Linked DNA regions of Homo sapiens: all the other regions are linked to region 3. The links are contacts of gene promoters, found by promoter capture Hi-C in blood cells and fetal thymus (Javierre and others, 2016). All regions are on one chromosome and are shown on one strand. Each heading gives the region's core, a stretch centred on a gene start or on the middle of the fragment in contact. The rest is flanking DNA. Distances are from core to core; before and after follow the strand shown.

Evidence for each region. Contacts are between HindIII fragments. The CHiCAGO score rates a contact against its expected background, and 5 or more counts as called.
Region 1: a fragment that was not itself captured here is called in contact with the fragment with the promoter of OCLN in region 3 in 1 of 17 cell types (neutrophils); the score reaches 5.4 in neutrophils.
Region 2: the fragment with the promoter of CENPH here is called in contact with the fragment with the promoter of OCLN in region 3 in 2 of 17 cell types (neutrophils and erythroblasts); the score reaches 10.5 in neutrophils.

What each region holds. Positions count from the first base shown.
Region 1 is chr5:69,204,460-69,207,641 of GRCh38, forward strand. The region is part of intron 7 of CENPH (centromere protein H); the gene reads left to right. Among named protein-coding and RNA genes, the nearest start is that of KGD4, 12 kb to the right of the region's middle. The HindIII fragment of the contact is 3,917 bases long and covers 1-3,182 here.
Region 2 is chr5:69,187,480-69,190,855 of GRCh38, forward strand. CENPH (centromere protein H) reads left to right here and starts at 2,104. Exons shown (of 9, transcript NM_022909.4): 1 at 2,104-2,289. The coding sequence starts at 2,156. LOC112267932 (a long non-coding RNA gene) reads right to left here and starts at 1,998. Exons shown (of 2, transcript XR_002956215.2): 1 at 1,512-1,998. RefSeq lists enhancers at 1,716-1,955, 1,883-2,177 and a silencer at 2,036-2,155. The HindIII fragment of the contact is 12,435 bases long and covers 1-2,678 here.
Region 3 is chr5:69,491,350-69,494,515 of GRCh38, forward strand. OCLN (occludin) reads left to right here and starts at 1,441. Exons shown (of 9, transcript NM_001205254.2): 1 at 1,441-1,551. The HindIII fragment of the contact is 10,406 bases long and covers 1-1,791 here.

The DNA of each region.
Region 1 (3,182 bases), core at 538-3,037, 290 kb before region 3:
TTTTGTTTTTTGTTGACATCGAATCTTGCTGTGTTACCCAGGTTTGTCTTGAACTTCTGCCCTCAACGATCCTCCTGCCTTGGACTCCCAAAAGTGCTAGGATTACAGGCATGAGCTACCACACCTGGCTTGTATTTCTTTTTTTTTTTTTTTTTTTTTTTTGTGAGATGCTGTCTTGCTCTGTCACCCAGGCTGGAGTGCAGTGCTGCAATCTCGGCTCACTGCAACTTCTGCTTCCCGGGTTGAAGAAATTCTCTGCCTCAGCTTCCCGGGTAGCTGGGATTACATGCGCCAACCAGCATGCCTGGCTAATTTTTTGTATTTTTAGTAGAGACAGGGTTTCACTGTCTTGGCCAGGCTGGTCTTGAACTCCTGATCTCGTGATTCATCCACCTCTGCCTCCCAAAGTGTTGGGATTACAGGTATGAGCCATCGCACCCAGCCATTTTTTTTCTTTTTCTTTTTTTTTTTTTTTTTGAGATGGAGTCTCCCTCTGTCGCCCAGGCTGGAGTGCAGTGGTGCGATCTCAGCTCATGGCAATCTCCACCTCCTGGATTCAAGTGATTCTCCGGTCTCAGCCTTCTGAGTAGCTGGGACTACAGGCACCCGCCACCACGCCCAGCTAATTTTTTGTATTTTTAGTAGAGACGGTGTTTCACCATGTTAGCCAGGATGGTCTTGATCTCCTGACCTCGTGATCCACCCACCTCAGCCTCCCAAAGTGCTGGGATTACAGGCATGAGCCACCTCGCCTGGCCAACCTTTTTTTGTTTGTTTGTTTTTGTTTTGAAATAGTTTCGCTCTGTTGTCCAAGCTGGAGTGCAGTGGCGCGATCTTGGCTCTCTGCAACCTCTGTCTCCTGGATTCAAGCCATTCTTCTGCGTCAGCCTCTCGAGTAGCTGGGATTACAGGCGTGCCACCACGCCTGGCTAATTTTTGTATTTTTAGTAGATACAGGGTTTCACCATGTTGTCCAGGCTGGTCTCGAACTCCTCACCTCAAAGTGTTCTCCCCGCCTCTGCCTCCCAAAGTGCTGGGATTATAGGCGTAAGCCACTGTGACCGGCCTTTTTGTTTTTTGAGACAGGGTCTTGTTCTGTTACTCAGGCTGGAGGCACACTCATGGCTCACTACAGCCTCAACTTCCTGGACTCGAGCAATCCTTTCACCTCAGCATCCCTGATAGTTGGGACTACAGGTGCATGCCACCATGCCTGGCTAATTGTTTTTTTTCTGTAGATATCTTTTTTTTTTTTTTTTTTTTTTTTGAGACGGAGTCTCGCTCTGTCGCCCAGGCTGGAGTGCAGTGGCACTATCTCAGCTCACTGCAAGCTCCACCTCCCGGGTTCACACCATTCTTCTGCCTCAGCCTCCTGAGTAGCTGGGACTACAGGCACCCGCCACCACGCCCGGCTAATTTTTTTGTATTTTTAGTAGAGACCGGATTTCACCATATTAGCTAGGATGGTCTCCATCTCCTGACCTCGTGATCCGCCCTCCTCGACCACCCAAAGTGCTGGGATTACAGGCATGAGCCACCATGCCCGGCCTTTTTTTCTGTAGATTTCTTAAATTTATTTTTCTATAGAGACAGGATTCATTCACCATGTTACACAGGCTGGTATAGAACTCCTGGGCTCAAGTGATCTGCCCACCTTGGCCTCCCAAAGTGCTAAGATTACAGACGGGATCCTGTGATCCACTGTGCCTGGCCAGATTTGTTGGTTGGGTTTTTTTTTTTTATACGGAATTTCTCTCTTGTTGCCCAGGCTGGAGTGCAATGGCGTGATCTCGGCTCACTGCACCTCCGCCTCTCAGGTTCAAGCGATTCTCCTGCCTCAGCCTCCCGAGTAGCTGGGATTACAAGCGCCCGCCACCACTCCCAGCTAATTTTGTCTTTTTAGTAGAGACGGGGTTTCTCCACATTGGTCCGGCTGGTCTCGAACTCCCTACCTCAGGTTATCCACCCACCTCGGCCTCCCAAAGTGCTGGGATTATACGCATGAGCCACCGTGCCCAGCCGGTGTTTTGTTTGTTTGTTTTTATTGAGATGGAGTTTCGCTCTTGTCACCCAGGCTGGAGTGCAATGGCGTGATCTCGGCTCACTACAACCCCTGTCTCCCAGGTTCAAGCAGTTCTCCTACCTCAGCCTCTTGAGTAGCTGGGATTACATGGGATTACAGGCGCCTGCCACCATGCCCCACTGATTTATATTTTTAGTAGAGACGGGTTTCATCATGTTGGCCAGGTTGGTCTCCAACTCCTGACCTCAGGTGATCCACCCTCCTCAGCCTCCCACAGTGCTGATAACAGGCATGAGTCACTGCACCCTGCTCAGATTTGTCATTTGTAAACATTATATAGATTTGCCTGTTAGCAAATAATCTCAGGGTCATTAGTAGTATTGGTCATCTTGTCTATTCCCCCATGTTTTTTTAAGTAGAATCAGGGTCTTGCTATGTTTCCCAGGGTGGTCTCGAACTTCTGGCAATCTTCCTGCCTCAGCCTTCCAAAGTGTTGGAATTATAAGAATGAGCCACCCATGCTCAGGCTATACCCTTTTGATGATTCATTTTCTCCACTGCATTCCAACCTCCTTTAATATACATTAATGTTGAAGAACAGGCCCCTGAAATACATCCATTTATATTTCCAAGTAGTTTAATTCTTAGACTATTTCCAGTAATACAAAAAATGATTGATGATGTTTATCCCTGGAGAGGGGAATCTTACTTTTTTTTTTTTCCTGAGACAGAGTTTCACTCTTGTTGCCCAGGCTGGAGTGCAATGGTGCAATCTCAGCTTACTGCAACCTCTGCCTCTGGGTTCAAGTGATTCTCCTGCCTCAGCCTCCTGAGTAGCTGGGATTATAGGCACATGTCACCATGCCCAGCTAATTTTTGTATTTTTCATAGAGATGGGGTTTCGCCATGTTGGCGGGGCTGGTCTCGAACTCCTGACCTCAGGTGATCCGCCCACCTCGGCCTCCCAAAGTGCTGGGATTACAGGTGTGAGCCACCGTGCCTGGCCAAATAAGATTAATTTTAAATGAAAAGTAAGATTCCTTGGCCGGGCGCGGTGGCTCACGCCTGTAATCTCAGCACTTTGGGAGGCCGAGGCGGGTGGATCACTGGAGGTCAGGAGTTGGAGACTAGCCCAGCCAACGTGGCAAAACCCCTATCT
Region 2 (3,376 bases), core at 854-3,353, 300 kb before region 3:
TGGGATTACAGGCGTGAGCGACTGCACATTGCATTATTTTTGTCCCAAATGTGAGCAGTGGAGACACCTGATAGGCAACTGCTTAAAAGGATAAGATTGTGGTGAGACAGTGGAAGGCATCCACTAAGTGGTAAAGAGAAAAAGTTAACAATGGGATCATCCTTTTTGTAAAACAAAATGAAAGGAAACAAGAAAATGTTCCATAAGTTTACATGTAGGAATAGCAAACCTAATGCCTGATTTTACATCCTGTGCTTTTTTTTTTTTTTGAGACAGGGTCTCACTCTGTCACCCAGGATGGAGAGCAGTGGTGCGATCATAGGTCACTGCAGTCCTCAACGGCTGGGGCCCAAGTGATCCTCCCATCTCAGCCTCCTGAGTAGCTGGGACCACAGGTCTAAGTCACCACACCTGTTGTTTTTTTGTTTGTTTGTTTGTTTTTGTTTTAAGTAGAAACGAGGTCTCACTATGCTGCCCAGGCTGTTCTCCTGACTTCAAGCGATCCTTCCGCTTTGGCTTCCCAAAGTGCTGGGATTACAGGCGTGGGCCATCGCCACCAGTCCATTCTGTGTCTTTTGAACTGTTTTTTTGTTTGTTTGTTTGTTTTTCGAGAAGGAATCTTGCTCTGTTGCCCAGGCTGGCGTGCATCTCTGGTGTGATCTCGGCTCACTGCAACCTCTGCTTCCCGGGATCAAAGGATTCTCCTGCCTCGGCCTCCCCAGTAGCTGGGATTACAGGTGCCCACCACCACGCCTGGCTAATTTTGTATTTTTAGTAGAGACGAGGTTTCTCCATGTTGGTCAGGCTGGTCTCCAACTCCTGACCTCGAGATCCTCCCCCCTCGGCTTCCCAAAGTGCTGGGATTATAGGTGTGAGCCACAGCGCCCGGCTTTTTTTTTTTTTTTTGAGACGGAGTTTCACTCTGTCACCCAGGCTGAAGTGCAGTGGCGCGATCTCAGCTCACTGCAACCTCCGCCCCCCCGGGTTCAAACGATTCTCCTGCCTCAGCCTCCTGAGTAGCTGGGATTACAGGCGCCCGCCACCACACGCAGCTAACTTTTGTATTTTTAGTAGAGACGGGGTTTCACCATGTTGGCCAGGCTGGTCTTGAATTCCTGACTTCAGGTGATCCACCCGCCTCAGCCCCCAAAGTGCTGGGAGTACAGGGGTGAGCCACCACGCCCAGCGAATTTAACTTTTGTCAGGAGCCGTATTACATTGACAATGGAGAGGAAGAAAACAGCACAGTATGATCAAGTTTAACTAGTGGGTAATTAGCTGTAAAAGAACTCTCGACTCTTGTTCAAAGAGGTTCAAGCTGCTGTGCTTGTGCGGCAAGGACAGTGTCCAAATGAAAAACTACAAATCAGTCATCTGTCCTTCATTTTCTCCATTCCCCCCACTCACTACACAGCTAAGAAAGCTCAAAGGTACCCTGCAGACACTCAAAACTTGAGGGCACGCAACTCTCAGTTACGAGTGGTGGCAATCATAATGACAGAATGAAGTACCAGTGCAAGAAACTGGAAGCGTGTGGATGTCTCCAGGCTGGAAGTCTGGGTTCGAAATGTCTGCAATGCCTCGCACTTGTGGCCCGTCCCTGATCTTCAGAAGCCACTGGTTTCTCCGCCAAACAAAGGGTATGCACCTCATGGGCTCAGGTCAAAAAAGTCTTCTAAACAACCCTCTAATGTTTATCTTTCACAGCCTGCCGGGCACACCCATCTTCAAAGGCAGAGGACGGAAAAGTGCCAAGATGGATGGACATATGGCTGTCGCCGCACTCCCGTGTCCAAGCGCCAAGGCCGAATGACCACTTAGGTCAGGAGATTTTTCCCCTCCAGGCTGCTGTTCCCGGGAGATGTCCCAACGTCTCTAGTCCAGCCCCTAACTCAGCACTCTACACATCCGACGCTTAACGAAAGCTATTCCAACTTTTTACCAGCCGTCTGCAGTTATTTTCACCAGTAGAGCCCGGATGAAAGAGGAGCCCGTAGTAACCACGGCAACCGAAAAACAAGGCGGAAAGGGTGGGGCCCTGGGCGGAAGGGGCGGGGCCCTCGGGCCTTTTCCCGGCGTCCATTTAGTGGCGGGAAAAGCGACCTTTTCTGAGCGCGTTTGCCTGTTGAGTGGTAGCCTTTCCCCTCAACCAGCAATGGAGGAGCAGCCCCAGATGCAAGACGCCGACGAGCCCGCGGACTCCGGAGGGGAAGGCCGGGCAGGCGGGCCACCGCAGGTCGCCGGCGCCCAGGCGGCGTGCAGCGAGGACCGCATGACCCTGCTCCTCAGGTTGTTCCCTTTGGCCTCCTCAGCCGGGGCCAAGTGGGCGTTGTGGCCCGGAACTCCGCCCTTGCTCAGAAGGGCTAGGGTTCGAATTCACGCTCGGTCACGTCAGGTCTCCGTGATTGCCTCATTCACTTAAACTGTTGAAGCTCTTTCTTCATCAGCGAAAAGGAGAGAAAAATGACCCCCTGGAGAGAGGTTACAAGGGTTAAATGAGATAGTCTAGGAAAGTGTTGAGCACAGTGCCCCGGGCCCTTAGAAGCTGTAATTTCTCCTCCTGTTTCCCCGCCCTCCCCCTACCTCTCTGGTTTACAGACAAATTGAATGCCAGAGCTAAACTGGAAGGAAGGTGCCCCTACCATTTCTTTTAGAACTACGACCCTTTGTAACCCAGAAGCTTTATATGTTATAAATTCTACTAAGCGGACGGTGTTTATACTTTTCCACTAAGCGGTTGCTGGGGAAGATTCGATGAGAAGGGACATTCGTCTTCTAAACTAGTGAGCAGGAGAAGGTCCTGGGCCAAATCTGCCTAACTGCCTATTTTTGTGTGACCACTCAAGCTAAGAATAGTTTTTATGTTTAAGTGTTGCAGGGAAAAGATCATAAAAATATTTCATAACACGTGAACTCTATTAGAAATTCAAGTTTCAGTTTCCATAAACAGTTTTATTGGAGTACAACTTTCCTGCCACAAGGGTGGAATTGAGTAGCTAAAACAGAGACCGTGTGACTCACAAACCCTAAAAAATTTACTATCAGGTCCTTTACAGAAAAAAATTTGCGGTCCTCTGTTCTATATCATAACAGAGGTAGTTTTAAAAAAATCATTATTGGCTGAGCGCGGTGGCTCACGCCTGTAATCCCAACACTTTGGGATGCCGAGGCAGACGGATCACCTTAAGTCAGGAGTTCAAGACCAGCCTGGCCAACCATGGCCAACATGGTGAAACCCCGTCTCTACTAAAAATACAAAAATTAGCTGGGCGTGGTGGCGGGCGCCTGTAATCCCAGCTACTCAGGAGGCTGAGGCAAGAGAATTGATTGAACCCGGGAGGCAGAGGTTGCAGTGAGCAGAAGATTGTGCCATTGC
Region 3 (3,166 bases), core at 191-2,690:
CCAATTAAATTAATTACCCATTAAAGCTGCCATCATCTGAAATACCTCATATTTATATAGTGCTTTTACTTCCTCAAGTATGAATTGTGCCTTAAGATCTAATGTATGGGAGAGTCACATCTCTAACCATTTAATTAAAGGTAGAGAAGTGGGTGGGATTGGATAGAAATTTATTAGCAATGCTGACATTCCAGATTGGAACACAAAGACAAGCAGGATGTAAGAAACCTAAAAGTTCGCTTTCAATGCAGATAGTTAAATGCCAAGAACTATAATTGCCACATCCTGGAGTACAATTAAAAAATATGTTGAAAAACAACCAACATACATAAAAATATACACAGTGTTAAGTGCAGACTATGAAATTTCCCTTGGAAACAGAATCCAGATCAAGAAATAGAATACAGCACCCGGAACTAAGGTGCTTTTTCGTTTTCTTAAAAAAAAAAAAAAAGTAAACCAAGTTTATTTTGCTTTTTAAGTAGTGTTGTTCTTAAAGCACTACAGGTTGGTAAACAACGTATAAGGTGCTTTTTCTCAGGCCAAAGAGCCATAATAGTTTAAATTTCCCGGTCCTCAAGAGCGGACCGGGTGGGCAGGAGAGGACCCTGGGGTGGTGATGTGTAAACTGTATTATGCACTTTAGCCTGCTGGATGGCAACTAACACCTACAGTAGTTCACCCTCATTTTAACCCCTCTAAGTAATTGTCTCTTATTCTGAATCTAGAGATTCAGAAACAGCGCCAATGTTTACACACGACTTTTGAAATTTTCCCAGGAGTCTTTCGTTGGAGCAATACATCTAGATGCCTTTTTCCAGCAACAGTTTAATCAAATTCTGGAAGCAGAAAAGTGTCCTGTGAGGACGTGCCTTTCCTATCAAAGTGCTGAGTGCCTGGACCCTCTTTCCGGAGGAAACAGTCCCCTCTGGACCTCGTTCGGCCTCTCTCCATCAGACACCCCAAGGTTCCATCCGAAGCAGGCGGAGCACCGAACGCACCCCGGGGTGGTCAGGGACCCCCATCCGTGCTGCCCCCTAGGAGCCCGCGCCTCTCCTCTGCGCCCCGCCTCTCGGGCCGCAACGTCGCGCGGTTCCTTTAACAGCGCGCTGGCAGGGTGTGGGAAGCAGGACCGCGTCCTCCCGCCCCCTCCCATCCGAGTTTCAGGTGAATTGGTCACCGAGGGAGGAGGCCGACACACCACACCTACACTCCCGCGTCCACCTCTCCCTCCCTGCTTCCTCTGGCGGAGGCGGCAGGAACCGAGAGCCAGGTCCAGAGCGCCGAGGAGCCGGTCTAGGACGCAGCAGGTGGGACTCGCGGCGCTGGCCCGCAGGCTTCCCGCACCCCCTTCCACGTTGGTGCGCATGCCCGGGGGCAGGGCCGGTTGTAGGGAGGAGGGAAAGGAGAGGGAGAAGGGGGAGGAGACGTCCCCAGCCCAGTCCCCGGCTGAGCGCTGGCGGTCGGTGCGGCGTCAGGTGCGCCCGCCAGGTGAGCGCGCTCCCTGGCACCGTTGGCCCCCGGAGGGTCGGGCCCAGTTGCGGCGAGCGGGTGAGTGTTGGGCGCGGCGTCAGGGGCGCACGGGAGCCCGAGGGTCCCCGTGGGGGGACCGCGGCGACTATGTTAGGGGAGGTGCCGGGGGGAGGACGCTCCGCGCTGGTTTCGGTGGCAGTTTCGTCCCCGAGCTGGGACTCGTGGGAACCAGAGAGGCGCGGGTCTGCGGAGAGAGCAGCACCGGCCAACTTGGGAGGCTGCCTCCTGGGGCGAGGGGTGGCTTGGAGCCGCCGATCAAGCTTTATTCCGCGGAAACGCTGAAAGCTAGCAGTGCCTCAGCGGCGCGGGCAACTTTTCACTTTTATGGGGCACGACATTCCTGAACAGCGACGATCCTGCATCCGCTCTGGGGCTGCAGTTTGGGGGGGCGGCCTTCATGGAGAGGGATCCTGCGCCCAGCTCCTTGGGGGTCCTAAGCCTGAGGCTGCAGCGAGGCGGCTGTTCGGCGGCCCGGGCGGCTTAGATCCCGGGGGGAATTTCATTCCTTCCGCTCCCACCCCACCCCTTTGGATATCCCGGGGAGACGGGGGCTGGATTCAATCTGTGAAATATTCCAGGAGTCACGGTGTGGGCCACACTGGCTACTTCGAATCCACTTGTTGCGAGTTGTGTGAACCCGCGTCGATTTAAGCTGGGGGGCGGGGAGTTAATTTCGAGTGAGGCTGGACTTCGAGGGAAGCTGCTCACGCTTCGGATTCTCATCCGTGACCAAAAGGGCTGCCCCCAGGGGGGCGGAACTGCCTCCGGGCGGTGCCTGCCCGGCGAACGTGGGCGCGCGCTGCCTGGGAGCGCCTCGGTGCGCACGGAAGCCGGGACCCGCGCCCAGCCGGGCCACGGAGTTTGGGGACCTCCGGGACTGGGCCGGCCCCGCGCGCCAGCCATGTTGCCTGCGTCGGAGGAAGCGTGCGGGGAGCAGGGGTCGAGGGCCAAGATGGCCTCTGCGCCTAGGGGTTGGGAGCGGCGCCGAGCCCCTCGCGCTCCTCGGGAAGCCACCGGGCCCGAGGGAAAAGCCGCGGCATCCTTAGGCCGGACCCGGGGCTCGCTGGCCACACTGCCCGCTTGGGGAATTACCCTGCTCGAGGAGGAGGCGGCGGCTTTCCAGGCCAGTCAGTGTGTGGCCCTTAGGCAACAGGTGTATTATTGGGATACCTGGAAAAGAGAAACGTTTCCCATGAAGGCACTTATGGTGTTTTTTGGTGATTCTTGGTGTGATAGAAAACTAGGCGTTCCCAAGTGTAACAATAGTAACAGTAGTTCTTTTGCACTGTACATATGAGGTGCTTGTGTGTGTGTGTGTGTGTGTTTTTCCGAGACGGAGTCTGGCTCTGTCCCCCAGTGCAGTGGCATCATCTGGGCTCACTGCAACCTCTGCCTCCCGGGTTCAAGCGATTCTCCTGCTCAGCCTCCCGAATAGCTGGGATTACAGGCACCCACTAGTATGCACAGCTAATTTTTGTATTTTTAGTAGAGACAGGGTTTTGCCATTTGGTCAGGCTGGTCTCGAACTCCTGACCTCAGGTGATTCGCCCGCCTTGGCCTCCCAAAGTGCTGGGATTACAGGCGTAAGCCACCACACCCAGCCTTTATGAATATTTTCTTAGTGGTGCTTTAA